Linked DNA regions of Homo sapiens: region 1 is linked to region 2. Evidence: promoter capture Hi-C in 16 types of primary human blood cells and fetal thymus (Javierre and others, 2016). All regions are on one chromosome and are shown on one strand. Each heading gives the region's core, a stretch centred on a gene start or on the middle of the fragment in contact. The rest is flanking DNA. Distances are from core to core; before and after follow the strand shown. Region 1 holds the start of HEPACAM2 (HEPACAM family member 2). Region 2 holds the start of MTERF1 (mitochondrial transcription termination factor 1).

Region 1 (2,700 bases), core at 110-2,609, 1.3 Mb before region 2:
TTCGAGAGCTCAGAGGGAAAATAAACATCCAATAAAATAAAGATTAAGGAGATAAGTGCTGCAATAGATGTGTGTACCAGATTTAGAGACAGTGCAGAGAAAGTTGTGGCATTGTTATTATTTTGCAGGGAGGTGGGGGAAGCATGAGGAGCTCTTGCCATTTTTCTGAAGCATGGAGGGATCTGAAAGTGACTGATCTCTGAAGAGGACTTCGTTTTCCCAATAGTCACTTACTTTCTTTGCTTATAGAAGTCCTTCTAGAAGAGTTCAGAGCCCTAATGCAAAGAGTGTTTCCAAACTTGGATTCCAAAGTTACTATCATTCCTTTTTTACTTTAATTATGCTTGAGGTATAGTCTTCCTTCCCCTCTTATCATTGAACTTCTTCAGTGGGCCTTTACTGTTAAAACTGATGCATGCAAGGAATTTTCCTTGATTTGATGATTTGATGCAGATTTGGATATATCCTTAACATTTTATATAACAAGGCTAGAACCAGAGCCTTCTTGCAAATAGGGGTTAACTAATAACTTAGTAAATTAAGCGGACATGCTTAGACTATCTGCTGCCATGACAATGGAGAGACCAGGTTGAAAACCTGTAACCTGGACACTGCAGTAGAGGTAAGATCTTTTCTAGATCATTGGTTCACTTCCTCTATGCATCAGCTGTGAAAATGTGGCCTCAGATACTATCTCCTGGCATGCACTTTTCATTATAATTATGCATGGTCCATGCCTCAGTCCCAGTTGGAAACACACCTGTGATTTGCTTTTAAAAATAAGATGAATTCAAAGATTAAATGAAATCAGTCATTGTAATAGGAAACACTGCATAGAAAAAATACGTTTTAAATATATTCTGGATCTCTCTTTTGATTCATTGGTAGAATTTTTACATGTTAGTGACTTCATGAAGATTTATAACTGTTTAGCAGATACATGAGCTACTTCAATTTTCATATAATTTTTTTTAATTTTAAAATAATAATGGCATAGTTCTGCATGATAGAAAACCAGCTTTTGTTTTTAAGGAAATCTCACAATATTCTTTCATTATGAAAACATGCCATTTTTCAGTAAAGTCACGCAAAAGGATGTTTTCCTTCATGTGATTTTTTAATAACTAAGTATAATTTATGAAATATATAGACAATTACTGGTAGTTGCTAAGAAACTCTTCTGAAAGCCATAAGCCTGTATTCTTGCTAAGCACATAACAGGTGTTCCCACTCCCTGTGTCCTTTGTATACACATTCATTCTGTATTCAAATCACAGAAGCAAGAGGCAAGATAGGGTCTGTTACCTCACTGCTAATTTCCCTAGCAAATAAACCAGCAGCTGCTGGTCCAAGTTACCACTGAGAACAGGGCACTGCATGCATGGGACAGGATGCTTTCATGGAGCCCTTCGGTGACACACTTGGGGTCTTTCAGTGCAAAATATACCTCCTTCTCTTCGGTAAGGCCCTGTGTGAATTGTGTTTTAGCTGTTTGTTAGGTTTTTTTTTTTTAATTGTGGACATAAGGTAAATATTTGCTTTAGGCTGTAGATGCATTCAGATAATTGAAGAGCAGGTCAGAACCTTTTAACAATAACACACTGTTACAGCAAAGAAGCAGGAACATTTAAGAGAAATGAGTTTCAATAAATAGATTGTTATTGTTTTCTTGGAACAACAATTATTGTCATAGCACTCATTAAGATAATTCAGATATTTTTAAAAGATAATGAATTTCTTCTTTTAGAGTTTACATATAGGTTCAATAGTCTTTAATGCATTTATTTCAGCAAATATTCTAATAGGCCATGAAATTGTGACCACTTAGAGTGAAACTACAAATAATTTACGAAAATTGTTTTCTTTTTAATTAAAGATATTGTTGCAAACTGTTTACTGCTTCGTTTTAAGTTATCTGTCTCATCTTATGAAATATGGAAGAAAGGTAAGATTCCAAACTAACAAAAAAATTTCCTACACAAAAGGGAGAACGTATTTGAAAAGATTGTTACTCCAAAATGCCTTTAGCTTTTCTCTTTGCCCAATGGCTAGTCCTATTAAGAATTTTTTTCTACCTTAATATTTTCCCTCATTCTCCTCTTTATCTTTTGAGTTTAAAGGAGTCTCTTTCCAGCATTCCAACTGCTGTCTGTCAACATTATTTTCACCAGATGTTCTCATTTCCATTCTTCCTATTTATCAGTTTTAAAAGTCAAATCAATTTCTTGTTTTGTTTATATTCAACAGATAGGAGTTCAATTAAGGCTACATTTTTTAAAAATTAAGAACAGCTTAGCAAAATAAGCAATTTAACTTTTAGGCTTCTTCAGCTATTTAGAGCTTTACTTTCACTCCTATATTTTGTTAAAGTTTGCATTGTAAATGTTATTATTCAAATTCATACCTACTGTTGTACCTATCTCACACATTTGAAATGTACAGTTTGTAAATTTTTTTAAGTCTTTGAGTTTCCCAGAGTTGTGATTGTTCCAGTTATCACAGTATTTATGTTATCAAATTTAAGCCTATAATAGATTTTTGTTTTCTAAAATTTTTTGAAAAAGTAAATAATTATTATAACTGTCACTACCTTTGTGCATTTGTCTTCCTTTTGAAAGTATCCTGGGTCATCATCCCACTTATTTTTATATTTAAAACAGTAGGACTACTATCATTTTATAAGTGTTGTTTTTGAAACTG
Region 2 (2,793 bases), core at 88-2,587:
TGAGACTCCGTCTAAAGGAAAAAAAAAAAAAAAAAAGAAAAAGGAGAAAGAAATGGGATAAAGAAAATTCTTTTTCTTTCTTGAGACAAGGTTCACTGTGTCACCCAGGCTAGAGTGTAGTGGCACAATCACGGCTCACTGCAGCCTCAACCTCCCAGGCTCAGGTGATTCTCCCACCTTAGCCTCCCAAGTAGCTGGGACTACAGGCACCTGTGACCACGCCTGGCTAATGTTTGTACTTTTTGTAGAGATGGGGTTTCACCATGTTGGCCAGGCTGGTCTCGAACTCCTGGCCTCAAGCCATCCTCCCGCCTTGGCCTCCCAAAGTGCTGGGATTACAGGCATGAGCCATCGCGCCCGGCCAGAAAATTACATCATTAGGCTTGTACATGGAGGAGTTAGTAATGCCTGAAATTTTTCCTCTTTGTAGAATTCAGGGTCAATCCTGTTGATCCTGTGTTTTTTTAAGGACCAAATCACCATCGTCTCCTGAGGATAACTCGACAGACACAATTAATTCATTAATGTAGATATTATCTTTCTTTTGATGGTCACAGGAGAAGTGCCTTGAATTGAAGCTTTATCTCTTCCATTGTCACCATCACTAGGCAGGTGAGGCTGACAGGACCGCGTGGCTTAAGGCAACGCCTCGGGAGGGAGCAAAAATGCATCCACTGTGGAGATGAGGTTTCGGTTGCCTCCATTCTTTAAATAGCGCAAACCCTCACAATGTCAAAAGAATCATATTTGAATTCGAACTGCAAGTAAGGAAATCGAAGTATACTAGAATTGATTTCCAGCCTGAAGGCGGATGCTGAATTCAGACCAGCAGTGACACTCCAGGATTTCCACGGTAGTTCATTAAAGGAGGAGAATCTGGGACTAAACAGACAGAGTCTACACCCGCTTATCCTGCACCAAAAAACGCCGAGATGTTCATCGGCATCGCGTTAGTCACATTAGCAGCAGCAATCGCATTATCAAAAACTGCAACACGCATGTAAATAATAGCTACTTTTCCACCACGTGTCGTCGGCCGGCAGTGGATGCCCCCTGTAGGATCCCTATAAGATGCCTTACAGTTCCCCACGGACATCTGCCCAGGCGACTGGGAGTCCCAGGCCCCACCCCACCCTCCAAACCCCTTCTTTGGCGTTCAATACCCCGCGCTCACCGCGGTCTCTTGCTGCCCCCTGCCAGGCCCCTAGCGTCGGGCTGCGAAGGGCTGAAGTACCGCCACGAGGGGGCGCAGGACCAACGACATCACCTCTGCGCGCGACCCGAGGCCGGAAGTTAGTCTTTTCCACTTCCGCTCCTCCTAGCCGCTCCGGACCCCAGAGGCGGAAGTAAAAGCGAACTACAGTGGATGGGTGCAGTTCAGGGTGAGATTGGGAAGGTGGTGAGGCTGTGCTTTCCTTTCTTTTTGTTAAGAAGTGGGTGTGGGTGACTGCTGTACAGTGCAGCCCTTTGCAGATTTGTCTTTGGAGGAGGAAGAGGGATGGAAAGAGCCTTCGGTGTGGAATTACCTTGGTTTTGAGTTAAGAAAGACCCACCTGGGTTCGAACCCTAATGCTTCAGCTAGCGAAGGCAGGCTAGTATGGGAGCTCGGCGCTGTTTCAGATTTTGTAATTTTAAGGCTTATGCCTACCTTTTAAATTGTTGTGGGGAGTAAAGCGAGACAATATATATGAAGCACTTAGCTTTGGTACAAAACGTATTCGTGATTCCGCTACCTTTTCCCATCATATGTAGGCATGTACTTGCCGTTTTCTTTTCTGTATGTCTGAGAAATGTTGTTTGCAAGAGGTAATGCATCTCACGAGAACATAATGCAACGAGAACGTTAGCTGGGATCGATCTCTTATTTTGTATTAGGAAGGCCTGAAATATTTTGCCTTTTTTTTGTGTGTGTGTGTCATTTCCAGAGATAGCTGTTCTCCAGCCTTTCTGGAGGGATGCAGAGCCTTTCCTTAGGACAAACAAGGTGAGAAATGCATGTAAAGATCTCCAAACTTAGCTTGCTGTATCAAAAGAAGACCAGCTGGAATGTGGTATTTTAGGGCCAGTGATTAGTTATTTCCATTAACAGCCTTTTTAACAGGCCAGTTGTGGGGCAGAGGCGAACGTAAATCTTTTTTTAGACCCCTCATACTACAAGCATAGAAATTTTCAGTGTTTGTTAAGTTTGAACATTAGCCCTTTGGATAATGGTTTTGGTTAATTAAAAAGTCAATTTGAGAAATAGATCGAAGTCAATTTTTGAATAGGTACCATTTTTGAAATTTGTACGTGAGGAAAGTTGCTAACTTTCTTGTATTAGGCTATTTAGATGTTCATTTACCCTACTAGATATTATGAGTATTTTGAATGGAGATCCGTTGCTAAGAGTAAAGCATCATGGAGAATTTTGAAGTGTGACTTTTTTGGTACTAGAAACCGAAAAATAGATAAAGATAATTTGTATTTTCCATTGTTTTTCACACCAAAGGCCAGTTTTACTTGTTTAAATTTTTTCATCTGACTGCAAAGTAACACATATTCATTAAATAAAGTCCCAGTATTTCAGAAGTAGTACATAGCCTCTAATAATCTTTCAGAAATAAGTGTCATTCCACTTTCCCCCTCTGTATATATTAACGTCCCCCTCCCCGCCTTTAATATACATGGCATTATCCATACTGTTAAGCAGTTTGTCATGTAGAATATCTGACATCTTTTGATTGCAGTAGATCGGCCTTTATTTTTGGCACCTTTATAGTATATTGCATAGATGTACCACAATTTATTAATTAT

Evidence for each region. Contacts are between HindIII fragments. The CHiCAGO score rates a contact against its expected background, and 5 or more counts as called.
Region 1: the fragment with the promoter of HEPACAM2 here is called in contact with the fragment with the promoter of MTERF1 in region 2 in 4 of 17 cell types (total CD4 T cells, naive CD8 T cells, fetal thymus and 1 more); the score reaches 7.5 in total CD4 T cells.

The regions. Positions count from the first base shown.
Region 1 is chr7:93,225,128-93,227,827 of GRCh38, reverse strand. It overlaps HEPACAM2 (HEPACAM family member 2), which reads left to right and starts at 1,359. Exons shown (of 10, transcript NM_001039372.4): 1 at 1,359-1,460. The coding sequence starts at 1,382. The HindIII fragment of the contact is 7,149 bases long and covers 1-2,700 here.
Region 2 is chr7:91,879,246-91,882,038 of GRCh38, reverse strand. MTERF1 (mitochondrial transcription termination factor 1) reads left to right here and starts at 1,337. Exons shown (of 3, transcript NM_006980.5): 1 at 1,337-1,382; 2 at 1,926-1,984. The coding sequence starts at 1,956. It overlaps LOC112267986 (a long non-coding RNA gene), which reads right to left and starts at 1,237. Exons shown (of 2, transcript XR_002956514.2): 1 at 1,175-1,237. The HindIII fragment of the contact is 3,297 bases long and covers 581-2,793 here.